Linked DNA regions of Homo sapiens: all the other regions are linked to region 3. The links are contacts of gene promoters, found by promoter capture Hi-C in human tissues and cell types (Jung and others, 2019). All regions are on one chromosome and are shown on one strand. Each heading gives the region's core, a stretch centred on a gene start or on the middle of the fragment in contact. The rest is flanking DNA. Distances are from core to core; before and after follow the strand shown. Region 1 holds the start of PRX (periaxin). Region 2 holds the start of MIA (MIA SH3 domain containing). Region 3 holds the start of CCDC97 (coiled-coil domain containing 97). Region 4 overlaps DMRTC2 (DMRT like family C2).

Region 1 (6,347 bases), core at 1,128-3,627, 900 kb after region 3:
GATGGTGAATGAAGACCCGCTCCATTTCTCACCTCTGGTCCTTTGCCCACATTTGTCCCTCTGCCTGGAACCCCCTTCCCTCCTTTTTTCCTTAGCTCCCTCCTCCTCAATCTTCCATTTTGACTTCCTTTTATTATTTATTATTATTTTCTTTTTGAGACAGAGTCTCGCTCTGTCACCCAGGCTGGAGTGCAATGGCGCAATCTTGCCTCACTGTAACCTCTGCCTCCTGGGTTTAAGCAATTCTCCTGCTCAGCCTCCCGAGTAGCTGGGATCACAGGTGCCCGCCACCACGCCTGGCTAATTCAGTTTGACTGCCGATATCACCTCCTGCAGGATCCTTTCCTGAGTTTGCCGCCTCCTCCCTGGGGTGGAGTTAGATCTGTTGATGTCCCCTGTGCCCAGCAAAAGACCTACCACTAAACAGGGCTTGTGAGTGTTTGTTGAATGAATATAGGAACAAAAGAATGTTTGCGTGAATCAATGAAGGAGAGAGACTGCAATGAAGTGAGGGTCTCCTCAGGCCCATCGGGAGCCCCGACCATACCATCCCTTCTACCCCTCCTGGGAGGAGGGCTCTGGCTGGCTTCTGGCCACACCCCAATGCTTGGTTGCTGCCAGGCCTGGAAGGCATTTCCCAGAGCTCAGCACATTCCTGCCTTCCCCGGTGGCTGAGAGTGGGCAGGGGGCATTTCAGAGAGAAGGGAGGGAGGCCCCCAGCATTCCGGGATCCTGCCATCCTGGCCTGGTCCCCCACGCCCTCTGAAGTAGGCCCCAACCCTCTGGTGTGAGATGGGGGACAGGTCTGCAGAGGGGCCACCCAGGCTGGTGTGAGGGGCGAGGGTGCCGACAGAGGCCAGGGCTTGGTGTCTGTGCCTGGCTGGACAATGGGGCAGAAGCTGCTGACATGCGCTTTGGGGGTAATCCCCCAGCCTCAGCCCAGCCCAGGCCTGGGGCCTGGGTTCAGAGAGCGACGAGCTTCCGAGGCAGCAGCCGGGTGGGTTCAAGTGGCATGTGGGGGTACCTGTGCTCCCTGTGCCGCCCCCCGGGGTCTGGTGAGTCAGGGCAGGCTGGGGGCTGGACCAGGGTCCAGGGGTTGGGGGTGAGGCCTGGTAGCTTTGGCTTGGGAGTCGGGCAGGTCTGGGTTCAACTCTGGACCCCTGCCAATGACCTGCTATGGTGATATTGGGAGAGTCACTTACCTTCTCTGAGCCTTCTGGTCTGCAAAGTGGAAGGGGCAGAAGAGTGTAGCAGGGTTTTTGTGGTCCAGGAGAACAGGGGTTGGACCTCAGCTTCACCACCTCCTGGCCACATAGCTATAAATTGGGCATAGCTGGACGCGGTGGCTCACGCCTGTAATCCCAGAACTTTGGGAGGCCGAAGTGGGAAGATCGCTTGAGCCCAGGAGTTCGAGACCAGCCTGGGCAACATGGTGAAACTTTGCCATTACAAAAAATACAAAAATTAGCTGGGCATGATGATGCATACCTGTGGTCCCAGCTATTTGAGGGGGCTCAGTCGGGAGGATTGCTTGAGCCCAGGAGGTGGAGGCTGCAGTGAGCCATGATCACACCACTGCACTCCAGCCTGGGCAACAGAGTGAGACCTTGTCTCAAAAAAAAGGGTGGGGAGCATAAGGAGCCCATTTTACACCCTTGATTCAAAAGCAGGGCTTCAGCACTGAGCATGGTACTTAGTATGTGATAGGTGTCCCCCTAAACAGTAACTCCATTAGACAGAGAACTGGGGGTCCCCTGTGCCCAGCCTTACTGAAAAGGGGCCAAAACCCCCCAGCAAGATGAGCCAGCCACCTAATTTGTGTGAAAAATAATACCAAATACTTATTAGTAACCCTCATTATGTGCCCGGCATTGTCTTACATTTTCAGTCTCTTTTAACTCGTTTAATCTTCACCACAGCCCCATAAGGTGGGTACTCTTACTATCCGCAAAGAGAAGCTGTGACTGGCAGCAGGTCACCCAGCGAGGAAGTGGTCGCGCTGCGATTTGAACCCAAGTTGACAGGGAGAGGGAGTGAAAGGAGTTTACAGTAGAGGCAGTTGGCCAGGCCCGGGTCCTGGAGCCAGGAAACAGTGGGGCTGGGGTGGGGTCCTGATTCTCCAAGTCGAGGAAGCCAACGTGCAAATCCTTGAAGCTGAGCTCATGGCAGAGATCTCGGCCCAGGCAAGAGAGAGGCGGCTGGTGGCTGTCCCGTGGCCCCCACCCCTTGGGGATAGATGTAGCTGGAGGAGGGGGATGTTTGTTTCTCCACCACCCACCCTCTGGTGACGTCACACCCCCGCAGCCAATGGCTGGGGTCTCTCTCTCCTCCCCCCTCCCCATTCCTTTTCCCCCCCAGCCTAGGGCTAGGGCTGACAGACGGGACCAGGAGCTCTCGAGGTGTCTGGAGGCTCAGCGGTAAGAGATCAGCCGGCCGGTCCCTTCCCTGGCCAGGCTGAGACACTGTGGGAATGAGGTTCAGGGTCCCGGGAGGTGCTGGGAGGGGGCCTGGGGGCTCAGGAAGCCGTGTGGTGTAGGTGTTAAAGGTATAGACTTTGGAGCTGGTGGTTCAAATCCCCTTTCCTCTCCTTTCTGGCTGTGCAGCCTTGGGCAAGATACTTCATCCTTTGTGCCTCTGTTTCCCCATCTCTAAAATGGGCTGATGTCTGGAGGCCACCTCACAGGGCTGGTGCCGAGTAAATGAGTTGCTGCTTTTAAAGAGCTAGGGCAGCCAGGCATGGTGGCTCATGCCTATAATCCCAGCACTTTGGGAGGCTGAGGCGGCAGGACTGCTTAAGCCCAGGAGTTCGAGACCAGCCTGGGCCACATAGAGAGGCCCCCATCTCTACAAAACAAAAAAAAATTTTTTTTAATTAGCTGGGCATGGTGGTGCATGCCTGTGGTTCCAGCTACTCTGGAGGCTGAGATGGGAGATTGGGTTGGGCCCAGGAGGTTGGGGCTGCAGTGAGCCGTGATCACACCTCTGCACTCCAGTCTCAGTGACAGAGGGAGACCCTGTCTCCAAAAAACAAACTAACAAACACCAGAGCTGGGGCAGGAGGCCTGGGGTGGGTCCCTGGAGTAGGGTGCTAGGGAGGCAGCATGGATCCTGTTGGGAGGCTGGTGCCTGAGCTGGGTTTTGTCTCTCAGCCAAAGCTCCCCTTTGGTAGCAGAGAAAGTGGGGGCCACTGAGGAGCAAAGGTTGGATGTGCAACACTGTGAGAAGCACAGCTCCCTCCCTCCATACTCTCCCTGTTGCTGTCAGAGACGAGTTTATATTAATCAAGCATTTACTATACAGGAGGGATATTCTAAGCACCTGCTGTTCTCTCACAAATCTTCAAAGCCTTTCTTATTGGCTCCATTTTACAGATGGAGAAACTGAGGCCCCAGAGATGAAGGATCTTGCCCAAGTCCTCACACCTGGGAAGTGCTGGAGCAGGGACTAACCGAGGCAGCCAGAGGCCACTGCCTTAACTCCCCCTGACCCCCTAGGTGGCCTCAGATAATGTTTAGAGGTCTGGATGAGTCAGCCCAACCCCTGACCCCCATTGCTATGAGAGATCACGCTGGTGGCGGGGGAAAGCTGAGGCTCTGAGCAGGCAGGGTTCCCAAGTGAAGTTGGTGGCAGTCACCAGGGAAAGAGGGCCAGAAGGGCAATGCCCTCAGCCGATCCCTCAGCAGCCTCCGAATGACAACCCCTCGCTCCCAGCTGCTCTGAAGGGCATAAGTCGCATCTGAAATGGATATCTCAGTTGTACCCACTCCAGGGAGATGTTACAAAGATTTAAGGAGCCAAGACAGGAAGGATCTTAGCACACAGTAGGTGCTCAAGAAATGGGGACCCTGGGGATTCTGAAAGTTCTGGCATATGCCAGGGTCATGCCACAGTAACTACCCAAGAAATAGGCTGCTGGCATCTGGAGTGTCTGCCTGGTCCCAGTGGATCTGCCTCTAACACAAGGCAGGGACCCTCCCCAGGAGCCTCCCCACCCCTCTTTCCCCTGCCTAGTGGGATAGGCAGAGCTGGGAACACAGAGTCCTCTCTGTGGGTTTCCTTCCGAAGCTGCCCCCACCTTACCCCAGGGGCTGGGTACGTGGCTCAGGAAGAGCACAGTTGGGCTAAATATAACCTGGGCTGGGTGCCTGTCCAGGCAGGGACGAAGAAGGAGGGCACTCTCTCTTGTCCCTGCCCCGCCTGAACTTCCTGTGCCAGGCTCCGGGCATGACCCTCACAGCCACGGGCCTGGGACAGAGAGCTGATGACCCAGGAGACCCCCTCTACTACCACCTACAAGGTTCAGGCTTCTCGTGTCCCCAGCTCAGGACTCTGTGCTGTGTATCAGTCCTGGGTAAGGGAACTGAGTTCGCTTTCACACCTGGGCTCAAGTCTCGACTCTGTCACTGTGATCACCGGTCTCTTAACTCTCATTGACTCATCAGTTAAATGGGGTCCCACAAGGTCAAGTATGTAAAGCGCCTGCCCGGTCCAGGCCCGGCACCTGGCCTGGGTGTGTTTCTAGCACCGTTGGCCCCCTCCTGCCCAACCCAGCTCCTGCCCCAGTGCGCAGAGCCACCAATGCAAATTAAGGTGAAGCAGGGGTGAAGGGCAGGCACGGGTCCTAGCTCTGCCCCTTTCTGGCTGGGTGACCCCTCTGTGAGCCTCAGTTTCCACCCCATAACAGCCACAACATCTAGGGTGATTTTGAGGCCTGTGGGTGCTAGCACAGGGCCCAATTCAGAGGAAATGCCCCAGACATGGCAGACAAGGTCTTAGTGCAGGGACCAGCTAATATTAATACTAACCACTCAATACCCATCAGTTGTTATTATGATTGTCCAGCTAAAGCGCTGGAGCTTTTTTTATTTTTATTTTTATTTTTTTGAGATGGAGTCTCGCTCTATCGCACAGGCTGGAGTGCAGTGGTGCATTCTCAGCTCACCACAACCTCCGCTTCCCAGGCTGAAGCGATTCTCCTGCCTCAGCCTCCCGAGTAGCTGGGATTACAGGCGCGCGCTGCCACGCCTGGCTAATTTTAGTATTTTTAGTAGAAACGGGGTTTCACCATATTGGCCAGACTGGTCTCGAACCCCTGACCTCGTGATCCACCCACCTCGGCCTCCTAAAGTGTTGGGATTACAGGCCTAAGCCACGCGCCCAGCCCGTGCTGGAGTTTTTAGACAAGTTCAAGTCCTGGCACAGCCTGGAAGGTGTAGGGGGCTCACAGGGGATCCCAGGGAAGGCCACAGAGACCAGGACCCCCTAGGAGATGCAGAGAGAAGCCCTCTTACACTGTGGGGGGCGTGGGTGCTGTGGGAGTGTTAAGGGGTCCCCATGTCCTCTCTCCTGGCCACTGATGGGCTATGAAAGGCCATTGTGTGGCCAGGGTGGGTGGGCAGGGGCGGAATGCAACTGAGCACAGCAGACGGGCCATTGTGTGAGGGAATGTGCCGCGTGAGGCCTGACCTTTCCCTGTGCAATAGGGGTTGGCGGGTTGGCATGCCAGGTGGGGGCTGTGAGGACAAGCCCAGAGTCGGGGGTTGGGGGAGAGAGTATTCATCTCCATTTCCCCAGATGGGCCTGGCGGGTGGCTGCATGTGAATTTCAGCTTTGCCTCCTTCTGGCTGTGCTATGAGGCCTTGAGCAAGTTCTTTTGGCCTCTCAGGAAATGGGGTTTTCCGAGGTGAAGTAGAAGGTGAAGGTCTTAGCACGGGGGCCAGCAAATACTAATCACTCAGTACCCATCAGGTATTATTACTACCCAGATAAAGGGCTGGAGCCTTCAGACAAATTCAAGTCCTGGCTCGACCATTTGTGACCTGGGCTAGTGACATCCCTTCCCCCAGCCTCAGGTGTCTCCTCTGTAATGGGCTCAGTAGTAGCTGATTGCACAAGGCTGTGCTGAGGGCCATGTGCAGTGGAGCATGTGGGGCGCTCGACACAAGGTCAGGGCCATAGGAAGTTCTTAGTAATAATAATGGCCTGACAGGTGCAGTGGCTCATGCCTGTAATCCCAGCACTTTGGGAGGCTGAGGCAGGTGGATCACCTGAGGTCAGGAGTTCCAGACCAGCCTGCCAACATGGTGAAACCCCATCTCTACTAAAAATACAAAAAGTAGCCAGGCGTGGTGGTGGGCACCTGTAATCCCAGCTACTTGGGAGGCTGAGGCAGGAGAATCACTTGAACCCAGGAGGCAGAGGTTGTAGTAAGCCGAATTCGCACCACTTCACTCCAGCTTGGACAACAGAGCGAGACTCTGTCTCAAAATAATAATAATAATAATAATAATAATAATAATAATAGCAAGTATTTATAAAGCACCTGCCAGGTGCCTGGCACTTTACAC
Region 2 (6,150 bases), core at 214-2,713, 530 kb after region 3:
GTAATCTCCCTGAACCTGGGGAAGAGGAGTTAAAAGCTAGGGTCTGGGAAGATGGCAAGCTTGTGCCTGCTGAAGGCCTTTGCATTCTCCCTTCTCCCTGATCTCCACATAACTGCTCCATCCTTGTCATATGAATCTCAGCTTAAATGCCACCTGTTCAGAGGCCCTTTCTGAACACCCAAGTAAGTCTCTGTTAATTCTCACAGCAGCGCATATTTGCTTTTATTATTATTATTATTTTGGAAACAGGGTCTCATTGTGTCGCCCAGGTTGAGGTGCAGTAGCATGATCACGGCTCACTGCAGCCTCAACTTCTGGGATCAAGCAATCCTCCCACCTCAGCCTCCCGAGTAGCCGGGACCACAGACACATGCCATGAAGCCCAGTTAATTTTAAATTTTTTTTTATAGAGATGGGGGTCTTGCTATGTTGCCCAGGCTGGTCTCGAACTCCTGGGCTCAAGCTATCCTCCCAACTTGGCCTTACTTGGGATTACAGGTGTGAGCTACTGTGCCCGGCTGCTGCTATTTTTTATGCCTTGCTTTTTGTTCATTTCCCTCCATTAGAATAAAAAGGATCATTTGTTGTTGTATCTTGGTGTCTAGAACAGAACGTGGGACCATATCAGGTCCTAAAATTGGTAAATAAAGTGAAAATAGGCTGGGGGGCAGTGGCTCACACCTGTAATCCCAGCACTCCGGGAGGCCAAGGCGGGCAGATCATGAGGTCAGGAGTTCAAGACCAGCCTGGCCAATATGGTAAAACCCTGTCTCTACTAAAAATACAAAAATTAGCCAGGTGTGGTGGTGCATGCCTGTAATCCCAGGTACTTGGGAGGCTGAGGCAGGAGAATCGCTTAAACCCAAGAGGTGGAGGTTACAGTGAGCCGAGATCGTGCCATTGCACTCCAGCCTGGGTGACAGAGCAAGACTCTGTCTCGGAAAAAATTAAAAAATAATAAGCAAATAAAATAAAGTAAGTAACAATATCCCCCCACAATGTCTATTTCAGTTCACCCCCCTCAAATCTTCCCTTCATGGGGATAATGAGTCTACCCCAGCTCTGTACCCTTCCCTCTTTCACTCTCCCAAGACTCACGCTGCCTCCCCAGAAGAGCCGCCCACGGCCCTTCAGCTTGGAGAAGACATACACCACTTGGCCCCGGTGAATGGTCAGGAATCGGCAGTCGGGGGCCATGTAGTCCTGAAGGGCCACAGCCATGGAGATAGGGTCTAGGGAAGGAATAGAAGGGAATGCAGCACCCTCCACACAGGCTAACGCCCAAGCCCCCAATTCTCCCCTCCCCATTCTTACGGCTGCACTCCTGGTCCGCACACAGCTTCCGGTCAGCCAGCTTGGGCATAGGACCACCCCTGACACCAGGTCCGGAGAAGGCAGACAGCAAGATGATGACACCAAGGCACACCAGGGACCGGGCCATCGTGGACTGTGAGCAAGAGAGTGAGCAAGGGGGTGCTGGGGTCTCCAATTTCCTCCCCTCCCTCTCTCCCGTAGTACAAGGAAACTTGTGTTCTTGGTCTTGTCCCCGCCCTAAACCAGTCCCAAACTTCGCCCACACCACCTAGAAGTTGCTATGAAACCAGAACCATTTCAAGGATAGGGTAAAGGCTGTAAGCCCAAGGAAATTCCCAGATAAGGTCCAAAGCAGCTCACAACTTTCCCAGTGACAGCCCCCTCCTCAACAATCACAGAGGCCTAGATAAGGTGGTTGAAATATTCAATTCCATCTTCTCTTGAGTTGGCTTAGGTACCTGGGCTCCTCCGCTGTCCCCTCTGGCCACAGAAGCGGAGGAGCCTGTAAAGAAAACCACCTTGGAATTTCCTGTGCTGTGGGGCAGGAGAACAAGGCAGCCCTTTGATTACCAGAAACAGCCCAGCCCTTGAGTACTGACTGAATATTGTATGCTGAACCTTAGGCTAGGCAAAGTCCCACCATGATCACTATTCCTCTGCACCAGACGCTTCCCACTGGATGACCTGGGCTAAGCTATTTCTCCTCACAAAGCCTCAGCTTCCTTATATGTAAAATGGGAACAATAAAAAAGCCAATAGTTACAGAGCATTCACCAAGTACATATTTATGTTATGAACTCAAATGGATACTCTGTATCATGTCAGGAGGAGTGATTATAACCCCTCCCTTTTTTTTCTTTTTTGAGACAGGGTCTCACCCTGTTGCCCAGGTGGAGTGCAATGGTGCCATCCCGGCTCACTGCAGCCTCAACCTCCTAGACTCAGGCAATCCTCCCACCTCAGCCTCCTGAGTAACTGGGACTACAGGCACAAGCCACCTATGCCCAATTAATCCATTTTTTTAAATAATTATTTTGAGGTAGAGTCTTGCTCTGTTGCCCAGGTTGGAGTGCACTGGCATGATCCTGGTTCACTGTAGCCCCTATTTCCTGGGCTCAAGCATTCCTCCCACCTCAGCCTACCGAGTAGCTGGGACCACAGACATGTACCATTATGCCCAGTTAATTTTTTGTATTTTTTGGTAGAGCCGGGGTTTCGTCATGTTGCCCAGCCTCGTCTCAAACTCCTGGGCTCAAGCAATCTGCCCACCATGGCCTTCCAAAGTGCTGGGATTACAGGCATGAGCCACCAAGCCCAGCCTAATTTAATTTTTTGAGACAGGATCTTGCTGTTGCTCAGGCTGAAGTACAGTGATGTGATCATAGCTCACTGCATCCTCAAACTCCTGGGCTCAAGAAATCCTCCCCTCTCAGCCTCTCGAGTAGAATAGTAGGCAAGTCACCATTCTTGGATGATTTCTTTTATTTTTATTTTTCTAGAGCCAATGTCTTACTGTGCTGCCTGGGCTGGTCTTGAACTCTTGTCCCCAAGTATCCTCCCGCCTTGGCCTCCCAAAGCACTGGGATTACAGGCATGAGCCACCAATGCCTGGCCTATAACCCCTTGTTACATGGAAATGGAAGTGTGGAGTTAAGGAACTTGTCTAAGGCTTACAGAGCCAGGAAGTGGAGAAGTGGAGAGGCTAAGACTTGTATCCAGGCCCACAGCCATTGCTATGCTATCTTTTTTTTTTTTTCTTTTTTTTCTTTGAGATGGAGTCTCATATTGCAGTGGTACAATCTCAGCTCACTGCAACCTCCACCTCCCGAGTTCAAGCAATTCTCCTGCCTCAGCCTCCCGAGTAGCTGGGATTACAGGCATGTGCCACCATGCCCGGCTATTTTTGTATTTTTAGTAGAGACAGGGTTTGTCCATGTTGGCCAGGCTGGTCTCGAACTCCCCACCTCAGGTGATCCACCCGCCTCGGCGTTCCAAAGTGCTGGGATTATAGGAGTGAGTCACCGCGTCTGGCCTGAAAGATTTTTTTTTTTTTACAGGCAGGGTCTCACTCTGTCACCCAGACTAGAGTGCAGTGCCACAATCACAGCTCACTCAGCCTTGAACAACTGGGCTCAAGCTATTCTCCCACCGCAGCCTCCTAAGTAGCTGTGACTATAAGTGTGAGCCACTGCACCTGGCTTTGAAATGCAATTTCTTTTTTTTTTTTTTTTTTTTTGAGACATTGTTTCGCTCTTGTCACCCAAGCTGGAGTGCAATGGCACGATCTTAGCTCACTGTGACCTCCCCCTCCCGGGTTCAAGTGATTCTCCTGCCTCAGCCTCCCAAGTAGCGGGGATTACAGGCATCTGCCACCATGCCCAGCTAATTTTGTATTTTTAGTAGAGATGGGGTTTCACCATGTTGGTCAGGCTGGTGTCAAACTCCTGACCTCAAGTGACCCACCCACCTTGGCCTCCAAAAGTGTGGGGATTACAGGTGTGAGCCACCGCACCCGGCCCCACTTTAAAACACTCTTTAAAAAATTATTTCTTCATTCAGGCCAGACATGGTGGCTCACTCTTGTAATCCCAGCACTTTGGGAGGCTGAGGCAGGCGGATCACTTGAGGTCAGGAGTTTTGAGACCAGCCTGGCCAACGTGGTGAAAATACAAAAATTAGACAGGCATGGTGGCACACACCTGTAGTCCCAGCTACTTGGGAGGCCGAACCAGAATCACTTGAAACTGGGAGGTGGAGGCTGCAGTGAGCCAAGATCACGCCACTGCACTCCAGCCTGAACGAGAGAGTGAGACCCTGTCTCAAAAAAAAAAAAAAAAAAATCCGCCGGATGCAGTGGCTCACACCTGTAATCCCAGCACTTTGGGAGGCTGAGGTGGGTGGATCACCTGAGGTCAGGAGTTCAAGACCAGCCTGGCCAATATGGTGAAACCCTGTCACTACTGAAAAATACAAAAATGAGCCAGGCATGGTGGCGCATGCCTGTAGTCCCAGCTACTCAGGAGGCTGAGGCAGAAGAATTGCTTGAACCTGGGAGGTGGAGGTTGCAATGAGCCAAGATCATGCCACTGCACTCCAGCCTGGGTGACAGAGTGAGACTCTGTCTCAAAAAAAAAAAAAATCATTTCTTCATTCATTGAAGATTTCATGAGTACATAAAGTATCCTAGGACTTAATCCAGACCCTGGAGATTCATCAAGGAATGAAAATTAAAGGGGAGATAATCAATGAACAAAGTTCAGATATATGATAGTGTGTGAAGTATTAAGGATACTCAGAAAGAACACTCAAGAATCAGCTGTGGGAACCGTGCCCCCTGCCCCATATTACTGATGAAGCCACAAAGAAATAGAAGTGACTTCAATTCCCAAAGCACAGTGCATGTATCTCCTGCTGCATAATTAGCCTAAGACCAACATTGCCCCAGTGCAGTGGCTCATGCCTGTAATCCCAACACTTTGGGAGGCTGAGACAGGAGGATTGCTAGAGCCTAAGAATTTGAGACCAGCCTAAGTAACACAGGGAGACCCTTGTACCTACAAAAAGAAGAAAAAAAGAGAAAAACTAGCTGTGCATGGTGGTACAAACCTGTAGTCCCAGCCACTCAGGAGGTTGAGGTGGGAGGACCACTTGAACCCAGGATGTAGAGGCCGCAGTGAGCCATGATCGTGCCACTGCACTCTAGAGCAAGAACCTGTTTAGAAAAAAAAAGACCAAAATTATCACCTTTTCTGTGGGTCGAATGTCTCAGGCTTAAGGTCTGCTATAAGGCTGCAATCAGCCTGTCAGCCAGGGGTGCAGTTTCATCTGAAGGCTGAATGGTGGGAGGACTGCTTCCAAACTCATTCAGGCAGCTGTTGGGGAGATGCAGTTGCTTGTGGGAACTGGACTGAGGGCCTCTGTCCTCAGTTTTCTTGACACGTGGACCTCTACAGACAGCTTGAGAGGTGAAGATGGCTGGGCCTCTGGGCCGGTGAGGACTTGGAGAACTTTTCTGTCTACCTAAAGGATTGTAAATGCACCAATCAGCACTCTGTGTCTAGCTAAAGGTTTGTAAACACACCAATCAGTGCTCTGTGTCTAGCTAATCAGGTAGGGGACTTGGAGAACTTTTCTGTCTAGCTAAAGGATTGTAAATGCACCAATCAGCGCTCTGTGTCTAGCTAAAGGATTGTAAGCACGCCAATCAGCGCTCTGTGTCTAGGTAAAGATTTGTAAACGCACCAATCAGCTCTCTGTAAAAACGGACCAATCAGACTCTGTAAAACAGACCAATCAGCACTCTGTAAAATGGACCAATCAGCTATCTGTAAAATGGATCAATCAGCAGGATGTGGGTGGGACCAAATAAGGAAATAAAAGCAGGCCACCCTAGCCAGCAGCTGCAACTGGCTCAGGGCGCCTTCCATGCTGTGGAAGCCTTGTTCTTTTGCTCTTTGCAATAAATTTTGCTGTTGCACATTCTATAGGTCCACATTATCTTTATGAGCTGTAACACTCACCGCGAAGGTCTGTGGCTTCACTCCTGAACTCAGCATAGACTACAAACCCACCAGAAGGAAGAAATTCCAGATACATCTGAACATCTGAAGGAACAAACTCCAGGCACACCATCTTTAAGAACTGTGACACTCACTGCGAGGGTGCATGGCTTCATTCTTGAAGTCAGCGACGCCAAGAACCCACCAGAAGGAACCAATTCCAGACACAAGCTCACAACGTGGCAGCTGGATTTCCCAACAGCAAGACAGAGGCCAGTCTTTGTACCCACCCTTTGTACTCTTCCTCCATATTGCAGCCACAGGAGCAGGGCCACTG
Region 3 (6,988 bases), core at 3,256-5,755:
AAAAAAGTGACATTTGATTAGAGACCTCAGGTGGTGAGGGATTAAGCCATGAGGTCTCTTGGAAAAGAGAATTCCAGGCAGAGGCAACAACTACTGCAAAGGCCCTGAGGCCTGACTTATTGATCCACTCAATTCTTTAAATCGTTAATACATTTGCTAATTTGTTTACTCATTCATTCACTCTCTCATGCATTCATGCGTTCACCCAACCACTCTTTAATAACTCTAAATCTTAGGCCGGGCGCGGTGGCTTGCGCCTGTAATCCCAGCACTTTGGGAGGCTGTGGCAGGTGGATCACCTGAGGTCGGGATTTCAAGACCAGCCTGACCAACTGGGAGAAACCCCGTCTCTACTAAAAATACAAAATCAGCCATTGTGGCACATGCCTGTAATCCCAGCTACTCGGGAGGCTGAGGCAGGAGAATAGCTTGAACCTGGGAGGCAGAGGTTGCGGTGAGCCAAGATCGTGCCATTGCACTCCAGTCTGGGCAACAAGAGCAAAACTCTAAAAAAAAAAAAAGAAAAAAAAACACTAAATCTCTGAGAGGCCCTAAGTCAGGCAATGCTGAGGATCCATAGGATGAATCCAGTCCAGCTCCTGCCCTCAGGGAGCACCCAGTCTGATGTGGGAGACAGTCAGGATCAACAATAATATGGGCAAAGAAAACAGGAAAGCTGGCTGGGCACCATGGCTCATGCCTGTAATCCAGCACTTTGGGAGGCCGAGGTGGGCAGATCACTTGAGGCCACAAATTCAAGACCAGCCTGGCCAACATGGTGAAACCCTCTCTCTATTAAAAATACAAAAATCAGCTGGGCATGGTGGTGGGCACCTGTAATCCCTGCTACTCAGGAAGCAGAGGCACAAGAATCGCTTGAACCCATGAGGCAGAGGTTGCAGTGAGCCGAGATCAGCCATTGCACTCCAGCCTGGGTGACAGAGTGAAGACTCTGTCTCAAAAAAATGGAAAGAAAACAGGAAAGCGGAGCGCTGGGCAAACCTTGGTGAGACTTGTTTCCCAAGAGTGGAGGGAGCAAGCCTGCGGCAAGCAGGAAATACGTGAAAACAGAATATAGAGACAACTTTAAGCAGCGTGGCTGGGTTGGGGAGGAAAGAAGTCACAGGTGACATACATGTGTTGTGTGTATCAGGGAGGATTTAAATCACTGATGCAGCTGAAGACTGAGCTGGACAAGGGCAGGGGCTGTGGAGGAAGGAACAGGATCATGAGTGAGCGAATCAGAAAGATGTCAGGAGGCTGAGTGGAGGAGCCACAGGGCTGACGTGCTGGAAGTAAGGGAGGCATCCAGGGGAATGGTCCGACTGCTGCTACACGGGCCTCCAGACTCCTCAGGAGAGAAATGTTGGGCTGGAGACAGAGCTGTGGGTGTCATCAGAATCAAGACAAGAACCAAAGCCAAGAGAAATGAGAGGTAGGGACTGGGGAGGGCACAGGGGAGTGGGAGAGGGATGACAAGAGGGTCCAGGAAAAAGCACTGCACAGATGCGGGGAGGACATGCCTCTGAAGCTAAAAACTGGCTGTGCAAAAGATAGCTACATCGTAATCCCTGGAGCCCATTACTGTTATCTTAAAAAAAAAGAGGCCGGTTGCAATGGCTCACCCCTGTAATCCCAGCACTTTGGGAGGCCAAGGTGAGAGAATCACTTCAGGTCAGGAGCTCAAGACCAGCTTGGCCAACATGGCGCTCTACCAAAAATACAAAAAATTAGCCAGGTGTGGTGGCGCACTCCTGTAGTCCCAGGTACTCAGGAGGCTGAGGTAGGAGAATTGTTTGAACTCCGGAGGCAGAGGTTGCAGTGAACCGAGATCACGTACTCCAGCCTGGTCAACAGAGCGAGACTCCGTCTTAAAAAAAAAGAAGGCAACGTCAAAAGGGGAAGCAGAGATTGGAGTGATGTAGCCACATGCCAAGGAATTCCAGAAACCACCACTGGCTGGAAGAGGCAAGAAATGGGTTTTCTCCCAGAGCCTGTGGGGAAGCACGACCCTGCAGACACCTGGATTTCAGTTCAGCAACACTGACTTCAGCCTTCTGGCCTTGAGAACTATGAGAGAATAAAGTTCTGTTGTTTGAAGCCATGCAGTTTGTAGTACTTTGTTACAGCACCCCTGGGAAACAAAGTCAGGCTGAGAAGGAGCAGCCTGAGAGACAGGCAGGAAATCAGGCACTGTGGTGTCGCTGAAGCCAAAGGAAAACATGCAAAAAGGATGGAAGGATCAACAGCATTTAATTCTAGTCCAGTCTAGTAAGAAAAAAAACCTGAATGGGCCAAGTGTGGTGGCTCACACCTGTAATCCCAGCACTATGGGAGGCTGAGGCAGGAGGATCTCTTGAGGTCAGAAGTTCGAGGCCAGCCTGGCCAACATGGTGAAACCCCATCTCTACTAAAAATATACAAAATTAGACAGGCATAGTGGCGGGCACCTGTGATCCCAGCTACTTGGGAGGCTGAGGCACGGGAATCACTTGAACCTGGGAGGTGGAGGTTGCAGTGAGCTGAGATCATGCCACTGCACTCCAGCCTGGGCAACAGAGTGAGACTCTCTCAAAAAACAAACAAACAAACAAAAACCTGAATGGGGGGACTGAATTGAACAACATGGGGGAAGTCAGTGCAGACCCTAATCAGAGCAGTTTCTTAGGAGAAAAGTCAGACAGTCGTGAGCAGGAGACGAGGAAATGAAGACCAAGTATACATGACTCTCTGAAGGAGACAGATGGGGCCAAGAGACAAATTTTTTTTCTTTTTTTTGAAACAGGGTCTTGCTCTGTTGCTCAGACTGCAATGCAATAGTGCAAACACAGCTCACTGCAGCTTTGACCTCCTGGGCTCAAGTGATCCTCCCGCCTCAGACTCCTGAGTAGCCGGGACCACAGGAATGCACCATCAAACCTGGCTAATTTTTTTTTTTTTGAGACAGAGTTTTGCTCTGTTACCCAGACTGGAGTACAGTGGTGCGATCTCTGCTCACTGCAACCTCCGCCTCCCGGGTTCAAGTGATTCCAGTTGGTGCCTCAGCCTCCCGAGTAGCTGGGATTACAGGCACATACCACGACGCCTGGCTAATATTTGTATTTTTAGTAGAGATGGGGTTTCGCTATGTTGGCTAGGCTGGTCTCCAACTCCTGACCTGAGGTGATCTTCCTGCCTCCGCCTTCCAAAGTGCTGCGATTACAGGTGTAAGCCACCGGGCCCGGCCTTAATTTTTAAATTTTTTGTAGAGATGGGGTCTGGCTATGTTGCCAGTGCTGGTCTCAAACTCCTGGGCTCAAGTCTCACTCTGCTGCAGAGGCTGGAGTGCAGTGGTGTAATAATCTTAGGTCACTGCAATCTCAAAGGATTCGAGTGACACTCCCACCTTAGTCTCCTGAGTAGCTTGTCCTAGCTACTCCCTAGCCACCAGGCCTGGCTAATTTTTAAATGTTTATAGAGATCAGGTTTCTCTCTCTTGCCCAGGCTGGTCTCAAACTCTTGGGCTCAAGCAACTCTCCTGCCTTGGCCTCCCAAAGTGTTGGGATTACAAGCGGGAGCCACTGCACCCGGCCTTAAGACTTTTTTTAGGTTAAATTTTTTATTTTTAGAAAATTTCAAACATACACAAAAGTAGAAAGTACAACGACAATTCTCCCCCTACCTCCATATACCAATCATCTCCATCTGGCTTCCACAATTACCAATTCTTGGCCAGTGGTGTTGGAGCCACGCTTCCAATCACACCTCACCCGACGTCGGATTACTTTGAAGGTTGTGGGAAAGCACAGAAATTGAGTAAGGACTTTGAAAGGAGCCTGGCTGGATTTCGGACTTTGGGGGAAACGGGAGTTACAATGAAATGAAGGAATCGTTAGATTGGGATAAGTTTGCATGAGGCAGGTAGAAGTTTAGCCTGGAAAGGTAGGAGGATTCGTCTAGAGAGCAAGGGAAGGCTCAGCTTGGTACAGGGAAGGAGGTAATTTGAGAAGGGCTGGTCTGAGGCAATGCAGGAATTAGGCCGGGGTAGAGAGGTTTCTGTTAATTTGAGAGTTAGCCTGGTAAGGAAATGAATTAGGGACATGGAAAGGATTGGTCTGGAACTGGGAAGAGGTTAATTTCGGGGGGAAGGAATGGAGGAAAAGAAGGTCAGCCCGCGACAAGGGAGGGAATAATCTGGGCAAAGTAGTGAAGAGGACCGGTAAAGCTGAGGGGGGTGGGTGTCCCCCTAAAACGAGTCCTACTTCGCGTTCCTGGGGGAATCATTTCCTAGAGACACCGCAACCGCACCCACCCGCCGCCTGCGCGTGACCAAGATCTCACCCTTATCGGGTTCCTTCGCCGCCGTCGCCGTCGCCACGGCCTCCATCCTGATTCTCTCGGACTTTTCAACCGCCCGGCGGGCCCCGCACACTAACCTCCGGCCCACGCACGCAAGAGACACTTTCGCCTGAGAATGTTCCGGGTCCGGGTGCACCGCTGCGCCCAGGCACCGAAGTTCCGGGCCTAAGGCAGACGTTGCATTGCGCATGCGTGCCTCTCTCGGGCTCCGCCCTCCGCAGCCAGGAAGGAAAGGGGCTCCCCGGAGAGTGAGAGACCCTTAAACCTCTCCTGTCAGTCAGTAGGAACCAGAATCATTGTTCGTTTTATCACTGCTGTGACTCCAGCTCCCAGCGTGCTTAATTTTGGGATGGATGGCTAAAGGACTTTCCCCCGGAGCCTGGAGCCGTCATACGCTGAGGGTTCGTGCTCTCGTTTAGACCCCCGCTTGTCCTTTTCCTTTCTTAACTCCTTCAGGAATTCAGGAATATTACTAAGCCTTGACTCTTTTTTTTTTTTTTTTTTTTGAGACAGGGTCTCGCTTTGTCGCCTAGACGAATGCAGTGGCGCGATCACAGTTCAAGTAACCTCACATTCCTGTGCTCAAGTGATCCTCCTGCCTCAGCCTTTGGAGTACTTGGGACTACAGGCGCGCACAACCGCGCCCGGCTAATTTTTAAAATTTTTTTGTAGAGCCAGGGGTCCCACTTTGTTGCCCAGGCTAGTCCCCAACTCCTGGCCTCAAGCAATCCTCCCGCTTCAGCCTCTCAAAATGCTGGGATTACGCGCGTGAGCCACCAGCCTGGCTTACTTCCGTCATCATACCCTGTCTCTGGCTGGCATGAGATGGATAGTGAGATAGAACTTCCCATTTTGTGTTCCCAGGACCTGGAGGAAATCTACAGGTGTGAAACAAGACAACTCTGGTCCTTATTTCCCTATGGGATGGGTGGGGCTCTATTTAGGTGTTACCAGCAGAGTAGACAGACATGTCACTCAGTGGCCAGGGCTTTGATGGATCCAGAGGGCTGAGGGAGCTGTCCACCCCAGGCTGGAGGGTCAAGGAAGCCTTCTTTCTGGGAGGGTACCCTCAAGCTAAGACCTGAAGAACGAGTAGGAGCTGGGTTAAGAGGAAGGTAGGGAAGAGTCTTGAGGAGGATGGCACGTACGGACGGTTCTGGTTGCTGCAAGCACTTCACTACGGTCAGGGCATAGGAAAGGAGCTCTAACTTGAAAGCCATGATTGGGCTGTGGAGGTTTTGAGAACCTCATGAATTTTTATGCAAAATTCCATGTACCTCTGTATTCTCCAATGCAGTGGTTCATGGCATCATTTGTGGGTTCCAAAAAGGACTTATGGCTCCTCAGAACAAAATAAACACTGATTTGATATTCAAAGGGGGAGCAGAAAGAGAGGGCGCCAGCGATGTTACCAGGTGCTAGGCCATGCAGGGCCTCATAAGCCATAGTAAGTGGCTTGACCTCCTTTATTCTGAAGGGAGTGGGCATCAAGGGACTGGAGATGAGACGTGTGAGAAAAACTGGCTGAGAACAGAGGAAGAGCTTCCCCATTTGCATTCCCTTGAGGTCTGGAGTTGTGGAAGAAAGCCAAGGAGGTCCCTATTTACCAACCCAGATTCCTAGGCATTACCAGGAGAGGCCAGCAGAGGGCGCTGTAGCCCAGCATATGGACATGAAGGGAAGGGGACTTTCCAGACTAAAGGCCCTGCCACCTCCTCTCTGGCGCATTCTAGGGTCCCTTTTAGCCACCAACCTTGGTTCCTTCTCACGTTCTGATGCCCTACCCGAGATTCTGAGACTAGTCAGTTTCCCTCCCTTGTTTTTGTTGCCCATCTCCCCTTCACAAGGCTCTGAGCTCCCACCAGGGAAGATTGGGGCTGAATTGGCTTCTCCTGTGGCCCAGCATTGTCTCTCACAAGGAGCCAGGAACACAGCATGTATGAGGGAACGAAGACATAAGGTTGCTAAGGAAGGGGAAGATGGGCCATGGGGATGCAATCTGGAGTCTTTTACCCTGGCTCACTCCTCCAGGAAGCCCTCCCTGCACACCACCCCAGGCTCTCACAGCTGACCACTTGGTGCTGGCAGGTCTTTGTTCTCTCTGGAGTGGGAGCTCTGTGAGAACGGGGTCCAGGACTGCCGTGGCCATACTATGTCCCCAGCACTGTCCAGGACAGCTGAAGAACACAGCAGGTGGCTCACACACACTGGCTGAAACATGAAGCTCCTGGAATCCCCATGAGCCCCAAACACAGAACAGGCAGGAACTGTCCTCCGTGCTGCACACAGGCCAGGCCTGAGGCAGGTGGTCTGTGGATGCCCAGTGATGATGCCAAACAAACCAGCCCTGGTCTCTGCCCCATCAGTCCCACCCATCCCTCCACCTAGAGGCCTGTTCCATGTCCTTTACTCAAAAACTCCTGGAGGGATTTTAGACTGTGAGAGGTAGAGAACAAGAGAAGCACTTTAAAAATGAACTAGTGGATTTTAAACCAGGGACCCTTGTTTAAGCGTGCATTTTTAGCACCAAAATCGGGGCCAGGCACATGAATCCCTCAGTTAAGTTGTTTAATGAATGAGTAAATAATTTCCCTTTAAAGAGGCCCCCACCCCAATTAACGGCCAACTGCAGTAACACTTCAGGGTTTCA
Region 4 (6,828 bases), core at 2,288-4,787, 540 kb before region 3:
AGGGATGGCCTCCCTTTCTATCAACATTCCACACCAGAGTGGTACCTTTGCTACAATCAAGGAACACAATATTATCACCCAAAGTCCGCAGTTTACATCAGTGTTCACTCTTGTTGTATGTTCTGCAAGTTTTGGCAAATGTGTAATGACACGTATCCACCATTACAGTTTCATAGAGAATAGCTTCATTGCCCTAAACAACACCCATTTATCCCTCCATCCCTCCAAGCCGACAACCAATTATCATTTTATCATTTTATTGTCATCACAATTTTGCCTTTTTCCAGAATGTCATATAGTTGGAATCATACATTTGGATTGGCTTCTTTCAGTTAGTAAGGCATTTAAGGTTCCCCCGTATCTTTCTTTTGGCGGGGTGGAGGGGAGGGGGAGGCAGACAGGGTCCTGCTCTGGAGTGCAGTGGCACTGGAGTGCTGGGATTACAGGCGTGAGCCACCGCACCCGGCCTCAATAAACTCTTTAAACACAGTTTTAAAAATGGGTTGAGGCTGTAGTACCTACAAACAGTGGGATATTATTCAGCCCTAAAAAGAAATGAGCTGGCCGGGAGCGGTGGCTCATGCCTGTAATCCCAGCACTTTGGGAGGCTGAGATGGGCAGATTGCCTGAGTTTAGAAGTTCTTGACCAGCCTGGGCAACACGGTGAAACCCCCTCTCTACTAAAATACAAAAAATTAGGCCGGGCGCGGTGGCTCACGCCTGTAATCCCAGCACTTTGGGAGGCCGAGGCGGGCGGATCACGAGGTCAGGAGATGGAGACCATCCTGGCTAACATGGTGAAACCCCGTCTCTACTAAAAATACAAAACATTAGCTGGGGGAGGTGGTGGGCGCCTGTAGTCCCAGCTACTCGGGAGGCTGAGGCAGGAGAATGGCCTGAACCCGGGAGGCGGAGTTTGCAGTGAGCCGAGATTGCGCCACTGCACTCTAGCCTGGGAGACAGAGCGAGACTCCGTCTCAAAACAAAAACAAAACAAAAAAACGAAATCCCGTCTCTACTAAAAAAATACAAAAATTAGCTAGGTGTGGTGGTGCACGCCTGTAATCCCAGCTACTCAGGAAGATGAGGCATGAGAATCGCTTGAACCTGGGAGGCGGAGGTTGCAGTGAGCCAAGTGCACTGCGTTCCAGCACCACTGCACTCCGCAGCAGGACCCTGTCTGCCTCCCCCTCCCCTCCACCCCGCCAAAAGAAAGATATGGTGGAACCTTAAATGCCTTACTAACTGAAAGAAGCCAATCCAAATGTATGATTCCAACTATATGACATTCTGGAAAAAGGCAAAATTGTGATGACAATAAAATGATAAAATGATAATTGGTTGTCGGCTTGGAGGGATGGAGGGATGAATGGGTGTTGTTTAGGGCAATGAAACTATTCTCTATGAAACTGTAATGGTGGATACGTGTCATTACACATTTGCCAAAACTTGCAGAACATACAACAAGAGTGAACACTGATGTAAACTGCAGACTTTGGGTGATAATACGGTGTTCCTTGATTGTAGCAAAGGTACCACTCTGGTGTGGAATGTTGATACAAAAGGGAGGCCATCCCTGTGTGTTGGCAAGGGGACTATGGGAATTCTGTACTTTCCACTAAATTTTGCTATGAACATATATAATATATATATATATACATACATATGTATATGTATATGTGTGTATATATGTGTGTTGCATGTATATACACACACACATATATATGAGACAGTCTTGCTCTGTCACCCAGGCTGGAGTGCAGTGGTGTAATCATGGCTCACTGCAGCCTTGACCTCCTGGGCTCAAGCTATTCTCCCACCTCAGCCTCCTGAGTAGCTGGGACTACAGGTGCACGCCACCATGCCTGGCTAAATTTTGTATTTTTTGCAGAAAGGGGGTTTTGCCATGTTGCCCAGGCTGGTCCCGAACTCCTGAGCTCAAGCAATCCTCCCACCTTGGCCTCCCAAAGTTCCGAGATCAGAGGTGTGAGCCACTGTATCTGGCCCCTGAAGGTTTTTTTGCTGGGTACGGTGGCTCACAACTCTAATCCCAAAATAATAAGAAACAAAAATACACACATACAAACAAAACAACTCTAATCCCAGCACTTTGGGAGGCTGAGACAGGAGGATCGGTTGAGCTCAGACATTCAAGACCAGCCTGGGCAACATAGTGAGACACTGTCTCTACAAAAAATAAAAATTAGTCTCACATGGAGGTGTATGCCTGTAGTCCCAGCTACTCAGGAGGCTGAGGCTGGAGGGTCACTTGAGCCTGGGAGGTTGAGGCTGCCGTGAGCCATGACTGTGCCACTGTACTCCAGCTTGGGTGACAGAGGCTGTCTTAGAAAAAATGGTTTGAGGTCAGAAAGTTCACATTTTGATGAGGAGAGGGGCAGCATTGGAGTGTGTTAACTCAGTAGGAAAAAACAATTCCTAAGGAATCAGACAGAACGTATTTTACTCAGTCATTTATTCTGAGCTCCCAAGGAGGAGCTGCAGGCAAGTCCTGTGCTCTGAGAGTGCTTATTCTCTGAGGGGGAGACATAGATGGACATAGATAGGCACAGCTCAGGGTGATCAGGACTATGAAGTAGAGACCAGTGGCCCCTTGGGAACATAGGGAACTCTGCCTGAGAGGCTTAACATATTATTTTGAGTTGGATGAAAAGGATGAACTTTGGTTTTGTGAAGAGTTCAGGATCTTGTGAAGGCCCATGCAGGGTAGGGGTTATAGGACTGTATTTATGCAAACGTGTCAGGGCTGCAAAGCCAGCTACACAATGGAACAGGGGTGCAGAATGAGGCCTATGTGGACGAAGCAATGAGGGTCTGCGTATAGGCTGGATGGGATAAGTGTATGATGTCAGTTCTACGTTGGACGAGAATTGAGGTCAGGAGTGGAGCAAGTTAATGTAGGGCTGAAGCGAAAGGAGCATGGATTCCCAAAGGGCAGAATGTGAAATAAGCTCCTGAAATAAAACCTGGGTGACTGTGGGGAGGAGTCTTGTGAGGAGAGAGAGGAACAGGGACGGTGCTTCATAGTTGGGACCTCATTGGTTAAGTCTGCAGAGTGCCAAGAGGGTACACAAAGAAGGTTTAGAAGGGAGATGATTTACTCAGTACTTTATTGGACCATGGCAATACCTTTCCCTACCTGGCACTGGGAAGTGGGAAAGGGGGCAGTATAGGAAACAGTGCTCACAGTCTATTATCTGTAATCTCTCAGAGCCAAGAAGAGGCCAGGAGCCTACTGGCTCCCTACAACCACAGGTGAAGAGTGCTGCACCTGAACAGGCAACAACTTAGGAGCATGAGCAACTCTTAAATCTGCTCTTTTCCCTAAGACTGACATCTGCAGAAGCTCTGGCCCTTTCCCTCAGGCACTAATGGGGGGCCCTAACGATTTGAAAGACAAAGTTGGCCTGGCCAACTGGTGTGAAAAGCCTTGCCCAGGCTGGGTACTGAAGGCCGGGTACTGGAGGAGAGGTGAAGGAGAGGTGGCCTCTAGTCTACTCCTTCCCCCAATCTCCATCACTTCCTCTTTTCCTCCCCTTTTCATGCCATCCTTTAACCCCAAATTATACTTTCTCTTTTACCCTTCTCAGCTCTGTGACCTTGGTGTACAGAGGACCCTTGGTCAGTGCTGAGTAGCAGAATCTCAGCCATGTTGCATGTTGCAGTGCTTCCTTTCTCTGTGACTTTGTGGCCCTGGTCATCTGTCACTAGGAAAGCATGGCACACCAAGTCTTAGGCAGGTCTATTAAGGAGCAATCATATATCTAAGTTATAGCTAAGGGGAGGGAAGAAGGGTGTGAAGCCGACTTTGGTCTCCTGATATCTCAGTATCTCCTGAGAAGTGCTGCAGGTTTGTTACTCTGTACTCTGCTAGGGAGGAGAAGAAACCCACCCTCTCAAAATCCCAAATAAGAAATAACAAGTTGTAATTGGATGTCATCACCATCAATCATCTTGAGTAAAACAAGGGGTGTAGGTAACATCAGGAAAAAGAATCAGTGATCAAGCACATCCCTTGAGCCCCTTCTAAGGGTGGGAATGGGAAGGGGGTCTCCAGGCTTCATGTCTTTGGAATAGCTCAACAGGTTTTCCTATGTACGGAATGGTTCAAGGAGAAGGACTTGACACCAGAGGACTGAGAAACAAATGCAGGTAAGATCTTATTCTTAATGATATCTTGAGGAGAAAAATAAAAGACTTTTTTGAAAAACTCTTGACTTGTATGTATCTTCTGGAGTCCTGATTGGGGAAAGGAGTGGTGCATCTTTCATTCTATGCTTTTATTTATTTGTTTTTATAGAGACAGGGTCTCCCCGTGTTACTCAGGCTGGTCTCAAACTCCTGGGCTCAAGCGATCCTCCTGCCTTGGCCTCCCAAAGTGCTGGGATTACAGGTGTGAGCTATCACACCCGGCCCAATGCTTTATAAACATTATTAACTAATTTGGAGCCTGGCAAAGAGAAGGAACCCTCCTCTGATCTCTGCCTAGAAATTTCCCCTAAAACACTTGGGCAAGTTACTTTACCTCTTTAAGCTTGTTTCTTCACTTGTAAAATGGGAACCATCCTGCATAACTTCCAGGGTTGCTGTGAAGATATGTGAATCAAATGGAGTGGGCACTCAATAAATGGTAATAAATGTTTCTTAACCTTTTATGGATCCTTCGAAACTCAGACACGTGAACCTCCCTAGTTGAGGAAAAACTTGTGATAAAGACTAACTCGATTCTTTCTATTCTGGTTAGCCTCAATTTCCCCATCTGGAAAATGTATCAAATTGGTATTCCACTGGCCAAAGCTAGCCTGAAAATATGTTTTATTTGGCACGTATAGAATTTAAAGAAGAAAACTGAGCCAACATTTGAAAATTAAGATGTTTTACATGGAAATCTAGTTTTCCAGTTTCTCTTAAAAAATCAGAAGATGGAGCAACACTGAGTCCACATTCCCGCCTGGCAGTAATCTGCTAGGGCCAAAAGGAGGCTGCTCCTTAGGCAAGGCATCCATTCTCAGTTTGCCAGGGTCCATCTGGCCTTCTTTACTCATTTATTTGATCTGCTCAGCCCTGTAGGCATTTCGATTTGTAGCCCCTCTAGACAGCTGGAAACTGTCTATGCCTGGCACAGAGCGGGCAATTAATCAGTGAATCCCCCATTATTTCTTTACATCATTTTTTTTTATTTGGACAAAGAAAAAAATCCAAGTTTGTTTTCATCTATGGTAGCTATTGGATAACAGATTTTTCACTTTGAGAAGCGAAATGAACAAGTCCTTTCTGTCAGTCAGGATAGACTAGGTTAGGCTGTGGTAACACTCTCCAAATCTCAGTGGCTTACAACAACAAAGGTTTATTTCTTGCTTACTCACACAAACCTAGACACAAAATGAAAACACTCTCCTGTTTTCACATGCATGGAGACAGACATGAATGCATAGGCATTTACAGAATCATGGAATCCTGGGATGTAAACTCATGCAAACACGTTTATAGATACTGGTCAGCTTAAATAGCACAACTCTCTCTTTATTGGGGATTTCAAGAGATCCCAGGACCCAAGAAGGGTACAAGAATATCCACTGTCAGCCAAGGAAATGCCCACACTACCAAAGGAACTGAAAGCTAATGAAGCACCTGAAAGCTTAAACAAACAAACAAACAAACAAACAAAAAAGCCCGAAGCTTGTACTACATTAAATTCCATGCATAAATCCTTAAGTAAGACACTAAATATACAGTGCCAGCAGGCTGTCACCTCCCTGCCATAGCAAGACAGCCTCCATCTCTGGGTTTCTAGCTCAGGAGGGAGATGGACCCCAGACGGCCAATATGCAGAGCAACAGAGGGGGCTGGGCTGGGTCGAAGACAGGGGCCAACAGGCTGGAATCCTCTTCCTCCAGCAGGAGCTACAGGCAAGAAGGAAGGGGCAGGATCAGGTCACACCTGTTTTTCCTTCTAGCAACCCCCTCTTTTTACCGAATCCAATCCAGGCCTCATCATTGTTCTCCTGGATTATTTCACAGACCTCCTTGCTAATTTTCCCACCTCCAGTCTTGCCTCCTCCAAACCGTCCATCAAAGCCACCCACTTGTCTTTCTAAAGCTCAGGGTCTCTGAATTTGTCCTTGCTTAGTTCAGAAACGTTCCCTGGCTCCCCTTCACATACAGTTGCTGTTCTAGACACCTAAGCCTGGCATGCCAGATCTCCACCATCAGAAGCCTCTCCAGCCTCCTTTCCCTCTGTTCTAGCATTTCCTCCAGGCCAGTCTGCCCAATCCACTATTTGGACAAGAGAATTCGCAGCTTTCCCTGTCTGTCCCCCTAGGTGTTTCTCACTCTTCAAGGTTCCTCCAATCTTCTTCAGGTTTGTCACTGAGCCTTGTGAAGGCATCCAATTTCCCTAACTAGAACGTAAGCTCCTTGAAGGCACTTATCAGACCTCCTCCCAGGCCAGACCCCACTTCAGACTTCAGCAGGCAGCCTGGGTCCAGAGACAGAGCATTGGGTTCCCTGCCACTGTCTCACTATATGCCCTTGGGCAAGTCCCTGCCTTTCTCAGTGCCCCACTTTCCTTGATATCAAGAAATTTGCTGTCGAGTGCCAAACTGATAAAAAGGATTCACTGAATAACTCTCAACTGCAATCCCAGGGGCCAGGCTGAGGAGCTTGGGGTCCTGGGCCTGAAGACGTTCAACCTGTCGACCCCCTCATCTCCTTGGTTAGTCCCTGTGTACTTCAGTGATCTCCATTTCCCAGCCATCCCTATCCATCCTCTCCTTTCATGGCCCACCTGGTGGGCCACAGGGGTGAAGCA

What was found. The method cuts DNA at HindIII sites, captures the fragments that hold promoters and counts their contacts. A contact is called where the count stands out against the background at its distance.
Region 1: the fragment with the promoter of PRX here is called in contact with the fragment with the promoter of CCDC97 in region 3 in 1 of the 25 tissues and cell types used here (small bowel).
Region 2: the fragment with the promoter of MIA here is called in contact with the fragment with the promoter of CCDC97 in region 3 in 1 of the 25 tissues and cell types used here (dorsolateral prefrontal cortex).
Region 4: a contact is called between a fragment that was not itself captured here and the fragment with the promoter of CCDC97 in region 3, in 1 of the 25 tissues and cell types used here (dorsolateral prefrontal cortex).

Annotation. Positions count from the first base shown.
Region 1 is chr19:40,409,408-40,415,754 of GRCh38, reverse strand. PRX (periaxin) reads left to right here and starts at 2,377. Exons shown (of 7, transcript NM_181882.3): 1 at 2,377-2,417. RefSeq lists enhancers at 919-1,567, 5,084-5,675, 5,588-5,757, 5,676-6,269. The HindIII fragment of the contact is 14,641 bases long and covers 1-6,347 here.
Region 2 is chr19:40,770,834-40,776,983 of GRCh38, reverse strand. MIA (MIA SH3 domain containing) reads right to left here and starts at 1,463. Exons shown (of 4, transcript NM_006533.4): 1 at 1,315-1,463; 2 at 1,099-1,232; 3 at 1-15. The coding sequence starts at 1,441. It overlaps MIA-RAB4B (MIA-RAB4B readthrough (NMD candidate)), which reads right to left and starts at 1,447. Exons shown (of 10, transcript NR_037775.1): 1 at 1,315-1,447; 2 at 1,099-1,232; 3 at 1-15. The HindIII fragment of the contact is 14,863 bases long and covers 1-6,150 here.
Region 3 is chr19:41,307,689-41,314,676 of GRCh38, reverse strand. CCDC97 (coiled-coil domain containing 97) reads right to left here and starts at 4,505. Exons shown (of 5, transcript NM_052848.3): 1 at 4,321-4,505. The coding sequence starts at 4,366. It overlaps LOC105372401 (a long non-coding RNA gene), which reads left to right and starts at 4,628. Exons shown (of 2, transcript XR_935968.4): 1 at 4,628-4,739; 2 at 4,852-6,988. HNRNPUL1 (heterogeneous nuclear ribonucleoprotein U like 1) reads right to left here. Exons shown (of 15, transcript NM_007040.6): 15 at 6,890-6,988. RefSeq lists enhancers at 4,170-4,459, 5,733-5,912. The HindIII fragment of the contact is 30,341 bases long and covers 1-6,988 here.
Region 4 is chr19:41,850,677-41,857,504 of GRCh38, reverse strand. It overlaps DMRTC2 (DMRT like family C2), which reads right to left. Exons shown (of 9, transcript NM_001040283.3): 8 at 6,805-6,828; 9 at 5,172-5,921. The coding sequence ends at 5,809. Among named protein-coding and RNA genes, the nearest start is that of RPS19, 6.2 kb to the left of the region's middle. The HindIII fragment of the contact is 8,258 bases long and covers 1-6,828 here.